Regions from separate parts of the Homo sapiens genome. Here regions 1 and 2 are each linked to region 3. Evidence: promoter capture Hi-C in 16 types of primary human blood cells and fetal thymus (Javierre and others, 2016). All regions are on one chromosome and are shown on one strand. Each heading gives the region's core, a stretch centred on a gene start or on the middle of the fragment in contact. The rest is flanking DNA. Distances are from core to core; before and after follow the strand shown.

Region 1 (3,271 bases), core at 649-3,148, 5.0 Mb after region 3:
TTTGGTTTCTTTTTCTCAGATCAGTAATGCTGATGTGTATTTTTTAGCAGTTCGGTGTTCTAAAAGTTACTGATGGAATGAGAAGAAGTGAAGTTACAATTAGGTTAGGGTATTTTTTTAGTCACTAAATTTTTATCACACTTAAGGTGTGACATGGATTCTTTTAGTTGAAATGGGAGGTCCCCCACCTCCAGCCTGTAGTTTAGGTAGAGTAAATCTTGTCATGTAGAAGACCAGTTTTCCATTTACAATGCAGACCTAAGTATAATTGTATTAGGTTAAGGAACAGCAGTGCTGGCATATCATGACTCAAAAATATTAAGGAAGAATTTATTTGCTCAAATGATATTATGTGAAAATACTGTCTGCTTCCCCACCTTTTAAAAACAAGTGTCATACCCTTTGATAATTGGAGCTATGTGTAATCCTCTGCCTAAGGAGAGGAAAAACTGGTGGTGGTCATGAACAGTTGAGAAATAGCTTTATTTAAGTGCCTCACAAGCATCCCTTAACTACAACAGTCACATTTCACAGAACAGATGGGTTTATAAGAAGTTTGGGCCATCTTGACATATTGAGTATTTATGAATGAGAGGAGAGACAATATGAATGGAATTAAAGGATATTAAGGCAATTTTAATCGTCATATATTCAGGTTTCATATTTTACTGGAGTATTACACAATCGAATCATTAGGGCTAGGCGTTATCCATCTTTTCGACCCAACAATTGAATGCAGCTTTTTTTTTTTTTTTCCCCTGAAACAGAGTCTCACTCTGTCACCCAGGCTGGAGTGCAGTGGCACCATCTTAGCTCACTGCAACCTCCGCCTCCCTGGTTTGAGCGATTCTCATGCCTCAGCCTCCCAAGTAGCTGGGACTACAGGCATGCGCCACTACACCCAGCTAATTTTTTTTTGTATTTTTAGTAGAGATGGGGTTTTGTCTTGCTGGCCAGGCTGGTCTCGAACTCTTGGCCTCAAGTGATCCACCCACCTGGGTCTCCCAAAGGGCTGGGATTACAGGCATGTGAATGCAACTTTAGACTGGGTAAGTTATAGTTAAAAGAATCCTGTCCGGAAATTTAAGAGTTTTGTGACTTTGTGTAACCAATTTTTTTTTCCTAGCCCAGGAAATAAATGATACGTAATTCAAACCCAGAAAGCCAGGAATGTGTTTTTGCCCAGCACATTTTCTTTTTTATATTTATGTGAACTGCCCTTTATTGGAGAAAGCTTTGATGTTCGGTTTGTTAAGAAAAGGGAGCTTTGAGGGAGAAAATGTGTATTTTATGCAGTCCTCAAATTAAGAGAGAAAGAGATATTGATGGTAGCTACTTAACTAGTTTTATGGGAAATAGTATCCAATGTCACAAGGCAGTTGAGTAGAATGCCATTTGGTTTTAGCACCGATATTCAACATATTTACTAAAGAAAACTATGGTAATCTTTTTATCACAGTTAAGGTCCAGTTTCTTAATTTCATTCTTATAATTTTAAAATCCCTAATCTACCATGTTTCTGTAAAACATTTCCTTACAGTTTTGGAATTATGTGCATGTTTAGGTCCCTTAAATCTTTTTTTTTTTTTTTTTTGGAGACACATCCTCACAGGCTAGAGTATAATGGCACAATTTTGGCTCATTGCAGCTTCAACCTACCAGGCCCAGGTGATCCTCCCACCTCAGCCTCCCAAGTAGCTGGACTACAGCCACACACCACCATGCCTGGCTAATTTATTGTAATTTTTTTTTATTTTATTTTGGTAGAGATGGGGATTTTGCCATGTTGCCCAGGCTGGTCTCCTGAGCCCAAGTGTTCTCCTGCCTTGGCCTCCCAAGGCCATCCCAAAGTGCTGGGATTATAGGCTTGAGCCACTGTGCCTGGCATAGGACCCTTAAATCTTGATAAGACTGAAACGCTTGGGTCAGAATTCCATGGATTTTAGACAAGAATCCTGCTTGTTTCTAGACTGTATTTCAAAATGAATATCAAGTAATCTTTGTTATATATGAGAAACTTTTCTGCACACCGACCCCTAAAAAACAAAACATCCTTCGTTCTGAAATTAAAGTGTGAGAGGTTTGGAAGCTGAATATGAAGTGTTTATAAATGACCCTTGTCACCTTTCTTACTCTCCATTTCTCGGATTCATTCTGTTTTTCATTTCATCCATGCCTTTCATGTCTGGGGTCAAAAAAACTGGCAAGCAGAAAGGGTCTTTTGAAGCCAACAGACTACTTGTTAAGGAGGTATTTTAAATGAAATACCCCCAAAGTGTCTTTATTACCCCTAGAAAGATACTTTGAGGGGTAAGAAATCATTGTAATTCAGGTATTTAAAAAGTCAGTTAGAACATCTGTTTTGAAGGGCATTGAGGCACCTTTTAGTTTGACACAGTACGGTGCTAATCAAATTAATAAGCTGTCTTGGAAAGCTCTTGTGAGTGCATTGAGTTGTTACATATTCAGAAACTTCCTGTCAGGTGTTTGACACAAAGTTTTATTTCTAGAATTAACTTTTAAAAAAATCTAGTCACCCCATGCTCTCAGTTTTTCTGACTCAAAGCTTCCTCGGAATTTGGGGCTATCATGAACTGTCCAAGATAAAGATTATAGTCCTACATTGGCATGCCTAAATCTAGGAAATTGCCTACCTCTAATTGAATGCCTGTGAGATAGTGCCTTCTACTTGAAGTATATAGAAAATAACCCTTGCCTGAACAATTTCATTTCTAACAATACTATTAGCATTATGACTAAAAATAATTAATATACATTAAAAGCCGAATATGCCTACATATGTGGTAAGCGTAATAATCGGAAGAACAGAGATAGTCACTTTGTGCAGAGTAACTTTAAGTGAAGCAAGTAAACTTAATGACAATAAAAAGGCCTGGTTGTGTGATTAAAGGAGATGGATACATTTTTGCATCTCTAGGTAATTTTTCTTTTTGGTAATTTTACAGATTCTTTCTGTAGCAAATCTTTTTACCATAGTTAAGGTCCATTTTCTTAATTTCATTCTTATACAAGTATTGCAAATAGCCCAAGGAGTGTAAAAATAGGATCCATTCTTCTCCCTCTTGGTTTTCCCAGAAGGTGACATCACTGTTTATCCGATGACTGAAGCCAGGAACCCAGGGATTCCTCTGGCCTGATTCCTCTTTCTTCTTCATTTCCTTCATCTCCCCCATATTCGGTCCATCAGCAAGCTTTGTCAATCCTACCTGCAAACATTCTGTCTTTATTTCTCACATCATAACACAGGTCG
Region 2 (3,715 bases), core at 1,095-3,594, 3.9 Mb before region 3:
AAGATCCAAGACAAATAGTTTGCCACATGACTCCAACACAGACACAGGAAGCCAGTATATTACAAAGGTTCTGAGCAGAGCATCAGTGGCAGAGACCTGGGTTAGAATCTGATACTCAATAGTTGTATGACCTTGGGTAAGTTACTTAACCTACACTTTGGTTTCCTCATCCATAAACTGGGAATACAATATACCTCCTAGAGTTGCTAGGAGGATAAAATAAGATAGAGCACATAGACCACCTGGCACAGTACCTAGCCACTGAAAGGGGACTGAATTCATCAGCCTTCACAGGCTGACTGCAAGAGACATTAAGATGAAGAGGGGGCCCTGCTACAGTGACTGAGACGTGCTCACCGTTCACAGCATATGAGGGTCCATCTGACGCCTAAAATTCCACTCCCTTTGCTGTGATTCTACACTCACCTGGGAGCATAGGCTCATCTGGAAGAAATGTGAATTTTCAGCTAAACTTTCCCTAAAAGGGAGATAACAGCAACGGGCTGACCAGCCAATGAACTGCCCTCTTGGTAATTATAGTTCAGACTGAAATTAACACACTGGTATTCTGATTTATACAGATCAGGCTCATACAGGCAGGCTTACTATGAGTTGATCCCCTGAACCTACTCCATTCTGCATGCCACTGACAAAATTGAGTTTCAAGATCTGTAAAGTTGACCGTGTAATTCTGAATTGTGTGACTCCATGAGGACCAGATCTACCACCCCATCCCAGGAAGCCTTGCTTTTGATGCCAACCCTCACTGTCAACTGTCTCTAAAATAAAACACTCCTAAAATGACCCAAATTACTTGATGTCTTGCAACAAAGACAACTATATAGTGAAAACCTAGAGAAAATAGAGAATTAAACTGGTTTTTAAAAAGTTATTAATACCCGGCCAGGCGCGGTGGCTCACGCCTGTAATCCTAGCACTTGGGAGGCCGAGGCGGGTGGATCACCTAAGGTCAGAAGTTCAAGACCAGCCTGGCCAACACGGTGAAACCCCATCTCTACTAAAATACAAAAATTAGCCAGGCATAATGGCGAGTGCCTGTAAACCCAGCTACTAGGGAGGCTGAGACGGGAGAATCCCTTGAACTAGGGACAGTGGTTGCAGTGAACCCGGATCGTGCCACTGCACTCCAGCCTAGGGGGCTGAGCCGAGACTCTGTCTCAAAAAATAAAATCAAATAAAAGTTGTTAATACCCTTATATAAAATTATATTACAGTCTCACTTGAATCCCACATACAATAGAAAATAAGAAATAGAAAGGTGGTAACATGAGTGCATGAAGTCAGGAAATGTCAAAATTGGCTGGACGCGGTGGCTCACGCCTGTAATCCCAGCACTTTGGGAGGCTGAGGCGGGAGGATCACTTGAGGTCAGGAGGTCAAGACCAGCCTGGCCAACATGGCGAAACCTCGTCTCCACTAAAAATACAAAAATTAGCCAGGCATGGCAGCACAGGCCTGTAATCCCAGCTACTGAGGAGGCTGAGGCAGGAGAACTGCTTAAACCTGGGAGGCAGAGGTTGCAATGAGCCGAGATCGCACCACTGCACTCCAGCCTGGGCCACAGAGCAAGACTGCACCTCAAAAAAAAAAAAGAAAATGTCAAAATCACAATGAGTAAGCAAGAAGTTAGAGACATAAATGTATACTGAGAAGTAAATATTCAAGAGAAATCTCGAAATAAAAAACAGGCAGTGGATAAGCTCTTCCCAACCCTTCCTAGATTATAGACTCAAAACTCAAGAGGGCTACAGTAAAATACAACATATTTTGTATTTTCCTCTGATTTTACTCCACAATGTGGATTTTTAATCTTTGTTACCTGTGACTTTAATGAGGAAGAAATCTTTCCCAAATTTTAACATTAAATATTCAAGGCATCTACTGTTACTCAAAGTGAAATAGAAGAGTTAAAAAATTGTGCTGTGCTCTCACATTATAATGTGGTATAAGAGGCAATACAGGCAAGATCTACAGAAAAATGTGGCACAGACTCTAGGATGAGAGACTGTATCCCAGACCAAATGGACCTCTCTCATCTATTTGGATGAGGAATCTGCTACATCCTTAGTCTTGCATATAGTTACCGTTTGGGGACTATGTGGCAGCGTCTGCTCAGGACGAGAAAAGCAATTAGAGAATTTCCAAAGCCATGGCTTAGCATCATTATCTTGTTGAAGCCATCCACGTGTTCTACTGCAGGAGTTCTCAGTTCCGTTTCCTTCCATCATACAGCCATGCAAAGTGATTCAACATCCTTTCATCTTTCTTTTCTTTCATTCTTCCACCCTGTTAAGAATGAGTAAGATTTCAGTGTTATTTCCTTGCATAAGTACAAATTTTACAACATACTAAAATGTGAAACCACAGCTATATTTACAGTCCTATGGCTCTCAACAATTCAAATCTTTGTTTCAAGAGGAAGTCTCGCTCTGTCGCCCAGGCTGGCATGCAGTGGTACGATCTCAGCTCACTGCAACCTCCGTCTCCCGGGTTCAAGCGATTTTTCTGCCTCAGCCTCCAGAGTAGCTGGGACTACAGGAGCCTGTCACTATGCCTGGCTAATTTTTATATTTTTAGTAGAGATGGGGTTTCACCAAGTTGGCCAGGCTGGTCTTGAACTCCTGACCTCAAGTGATCCACCCTCCTCGGCCTCCCAAAGTGCTGGGATTACAGGCATTAGCCACTGCGCCCGGCCAACAATTCAAATCTTAACAAACAAAATAATAATAATAAAATAAAGAAAGAAAAAAACACAAAATATCAGAGCATATTACGGGTTAATAAAATTTGGTAAACTTGGTTGACTGTTTATGCTTAAAATCTAACTGCAACAACCTGATTTCTTAAAAAATCTATAATCTGCCATTCTTCATGTTTCATAGCTCTTCAAATAAAAAATGAACTCTCCATGAGTCTTGTTTCCTTTCCACATGTAACCATGTTTGAGAGAGGTAGCCATATCTTGGAAACTTGCATATTCCAGAGTGAGACTTCACCTCCTCACTTGGCTGGAATCAATTTTTTCTACAGTTTTTCTGAATTCTTTTCGGCTCTCTCTCCCTAAAGATGCTGCTCAGGAAAGTCAAAAGTTAACAGAAGAGAGCATCTAATCTGAGTAAAAGAGCCACCACCACATCCTCATTGACAACTATATGTAAGATTTTAAAATTGACTTAAGAGCAACTTCTTGCACTGGTTTCTTGATCTGAGCATGAAAAGTCCAAACTAAGTGGCCTCTGTGGACTTTGAATTTGATTTGCTACAGAACAAATTGAACCAATTTCTTAGTTTACTAATGATGAAAGTGCAATCTGATATACCACCAAAAATCTAACTGATAGAAAAATCTCAAGTCGCAGATGTGTTATATCTACGCCAGAGCAACAACACTCTTACAGGTCTTAACAATAAATGCAAGCGAGGCACCGTGGCTCAGGCCTGCAATCCCAGCACTTTGGGAGGCCAAGGTGGGTGGATTGCTTGAGCCCAGGAGTTCCCAACCAGCCTGGGCAACATGGCAAAACCCCATGGCTACAAAAAATTAGCTGAGCGTGGTGGTGCATGCCTGTAGCCCCATCTACTCAGGAGGCTATGGTGGAAGAATCACCTAAGACTGCGTAGTCAAGGCTGCAGTGAGCTGTGATTGCACCACTGCACTGCAGCCTGGGCGACGGAGTGAGACCCTGTCTCAAAA
Region 3 (3,381 bases), core at 427-2,926:
AGGTGCAGTGGCTCACGCCTGTAATCCCAACACTTTGGGAGGCCAAGGCGGGAGGATCACCTGAGGTCAGGAGTTTGAGACCAGCCTGGCCAACATAGTGAAACCCCGTCTCTACTAAAAGTTGGACTTTTCAGAAGGTAAAACTCAGGCTGGAAATGTCTTAACTTATTAAGAGATAGAAGCCTGCTAAGGGAAGGAGAGGGAGAAAAGAGAATGCGAAGGTTGAAGCTCACATCAAAGCTGTTAATTTGCACAACTTTAAGAATCCTCCTCTTGTTACTGCCTAATCATGCAGTGTGAGCCTAGGAAAAGGCTCCTCACCTTGACCTCTTATTGAGATGTTGCATGTGATAACATGCATGGCTGTATGGGAAGAGCTCCTTGCTTTCCCGTGGCCACCCTTTAACCCTTGTTCACTTCCAGTGTTGGGAATAGCAGGTACGAGTGGATATACTTTCCTACTCATACTGAGCTGAACACTGGAGGGCCCGTTCTGGAGATGATCCTTTTCCCTGTCATAGGTCACCATCTCATGAACAACCACAGACCACCACCCCCGAATGAAAAGTAAGAGTTATAAAAACATCGAATGCTTTCTCTCTAAGGGACCATAATGGATATCTAAGTAAGTTATAAAAGTAATAATTAAAAAAAAAATTTTTTTTTGAGATGGAGTTTCGCTCTTGTAGCCCAGGCTGGAGTGCAATGGCGCAATCTCGGCTCACTGCAACCTCATCCTCCCGGGTTGGAGCAATTCTCCTGCCTCAGCCTCCCGAGTAGCTGGGATTACAGGCGCCCGCCACCATACCCAACTAGTTTTTGTATTTTTTAGTAGAGACGGGGTTTCACCATGTTGGCCAGGCTGGTCCCGAACTCCTGACATCAGGTGAACCACCCACCTCGGCCTCCCGAAGTTCTGGGATCATAGGCCTGAGCCACCGCTCCCGGCCTAAAATAATTTTTAAAAACGTTCTGTGGTCGAAATGGATATCCACCTTCCTAGAAACACTGCTTTGCCAAGTTGGACGAAATGCGAACCCTAATTTCCCCACGTGCATTAGCTGTAGTCAATCATATTAGATCTAGGGCAGCCCTCGGTTGCTAGTCGTGGGAAGGGCATTCTGCAAGTGTCTAAAACCGCCCGCAAAGCAGTGGGTAAAGCAGCGGCCTAGAGGGGGCATGGCTGTCCCACGCCAAACAGCGTATTAGCCGCAAAACCAGGTACTGGCTGAACCTCAGTTTGCGTCTTCGCTCCGCCGCCTTCTGGAGTCCTTTCTGCCCCTAGAGGACGCAGGTGAGCTAAGCAGCAGTCATGCCCTTTACCATCATGACGCCCGCAGGCGGGACCACCCGGCACTGTAGACAGCTGCCCTTTACAATCATGACTCATAGAAACTACGGCACTCTGGCCGTGGCCGACGTTGCTCCTCCGAAGCATGGCGCCGGCGGGAGTTGTAACCCGGGCTGTCCGGAGCGGGGAGCTGCCCCTCACAAGCATGGCGTCAGCTGAAAATGAAGCCTGTGCTGTGCGGAGCGTCGCCTGCCCCTCACAAGCATGGCGTCTGCAGAAGGTGCTGTGCGGCCGCTGCGGGGCGGCCAGCTGCCCTTCACAAACATGGCGGCCGAGGGGTGCGGGGAGTGGCGGGGTAAGGATGGGAAGCCGAGCAGACGGCCCCAGAACAAGCGGTCATGTGACTGGGAAGATGGCCGTCTTTCCTTGGTAAGGAAGCAGCGGCGGGTGGGCTTTGGAGAGGGGCTGTCCTTACTTGTGATGGGGTCGGCCTGGGTCTGAGAGTGTGAATTCCTCTCTGTCGGGTTCTGGTGGTCGACCGGCCACCCCCAAGTTGTCTTGACCGTAGAATCCCTGGCCGCTACCGCGGTCCAGCGGAGCAATCTGAAGCCAGACTGGCGGGTTCTTGGTTCTCTCCCCGTCTGCTGCCTCTCTGCGCCTTCCACGGGCCCCTGTCCATTCATTCCCTAAAGAAAACTTGAGTTTCCAGGCTTCCGCGTCCCCAGAAGTTGGCGCGGGTTCTGGGGTCGCTGGATGAGGGTAATGGTGGACTCAGCTTTTAAAGTCTGGACGAGTCGGGAGATCTGGCTGTTGGTCAGTTTCCTCAGCTCCTCTGTTCACCTGGAGACTTGCTTTTCTCATCTGTAAAATGGCCGCCATTCATCCTATCCTAGGCACAGCCCTCAGACTTATTCCTTGGCCTCAAGGAGCTGACAGTATAATGGGGCAGACGCACAGTAGAGGGATGTCTAAAGAAGGCATTCGGATGAGGCACCAAGAAGGGAGTGATTATCCCCACCAGGGGGCTAGGGGAAGGCTTCAGAGAGGAGGAGTTAAATTGGGTCTTGGAGGATGAATAGGAGTCCACCATAGGGAGGGCGTGGCGTGTGCCTGGTTGGCAGGCCCGTAGGTCCCTTGTGGTTGGAGTAGCTAGGAATGAGTGACTGAAGCTTCAGGGTTCAGCAGGTGGTATGTGTGTGAGTGAAGAACTTGAGGAAGTTGTGTTGTTGATGATAGTGGGATTTGGGGACGGGGAATCTCTCCTGCATCTCAGAAAGCGAGATAATTTACTTTCTCTTCAAATGATGTGAAGTAGCTTAGATTAAATGAGCAAATGAAAGACCTTAGAAATAATCAGGTACAACCTTCTGCTTTTGAGCTTGATAAACACTTCATTTTGTCTTATTCCTTTCATTTGCCCAACACTTAAGAGACTGCTTCCTTGACACGCTACATCAGCATTGAATGCCTCTGAGCACTTCCACACCCTGAGGTTTTTTTTTTTTTTTCAGTTAATAGTCATGCTGGCTGGGTATGGTGGCTCACGCCTGTAATCCCAGCACTTTGGGAGGCCGAGGCTGGCGGATCACCTGAGGTCAGGGGTTCGAGACCAGCCTGGCCAACATGGCGAAACCTAATCTCTACTAAAAATACAAAAATTAGCTGGGCTAAATTAGTGGTGGCACGCACCTGTAATCCCAGCTACTTGGGAGGGTGAGGCAGGAGAGTCGCTTGAACCTGGGAGGCGGAAGCTGGAGTGAACCGAGATCATGCCACTGCACTCCAGCCTGGGCAACAGTGAGACTCTGTCTCAAAAAAATAATAATAAAAAATGAAAAAGTCATGCTGGCTTGACCAAAAAGCTAACCAAAAACATGAGAAACATTTGACTTCAGTGGATTTATCTGAAGTTTGCAATCAGAAAATCCAGGAAGATGCTGTCTTAATCTCTGCATCCCAGTACATTTCTACCTTTGGAATTTTAATTTTATATTACAAGCAGGCAAACAGGTGCCATAACGCTTTTAGTATTTAGGGTCTCTATAGTTCCTAATATGGCCGTGCTCTAAATATTTTGTTGTTGTTGTTTT

What was found. Contacts are between HindIII fragments. The CHiCAGO score rates a contact against its expected background, and 5 or more counts as called.
Region 1: a fragment that was not itself captured here is called in contact with the fragment with the promoter of VPS35L in region 3 in 1 of 17 cell types (fetal thymus); the score reaches 5.3 in fetal thymus.
Region 2: a fragment that was not itself captured here is called in contact with the fragment with the promoter of VPS35L in region 3 in 1 of 17 cell types (fetal thymus); the score reaches 10.7 in fetal thymus.

Annotation. Positions count from the first base shown.
Region 1 is chr16:24,541,717-24,544,987 of GRCh38, forward strand. The region is part of intron 1 of RBBP6 (RB binding protein 6, ubiquitin ligase); the gene reads left to right. Among named protein-coding and RNA genes, the nearest start is that of RBBP6, 3.8 kb to the left of the region's middle. The HindIII fragment of the contact is 1,332 bases long and covers 1,233-2,564 here.
Region 2 is chr16:15,636,985-15,640,699 of GRCh38, forward strand. MARF1 (meiosis regulator and mRNA stability factor 1) reads right to left here. Exons shown (of 27, transcript NM_014647.4): 2 at 2,106-2,307. The coding sequence starts at 2,249. Among named protein-coding and RNA genes, the nearest start is that of MARF1, 4.3 kb to the right of the region's middle. The HindIII fragment of the contact is 6,127 bases long and covers 1-3,715 here.
Region 3 is chr16:19,554,027-19,557,407 of GRCh38, forward strand. It overlaps VPS35L (VPS35 endosomal protein sorting factor like), which reads left to right and starts at 1,677. Exons shown (of 31, transcript NM_020314.7): 1 at 1,677-1,720. The coding sequence starts at 1,704. RefSeq lists enhancers at 1,272-1,751, 1,311-2,273, 2,132-2,361. The HindIII fragment of the contact is 7,423 bases long and covers 1-2,458 here.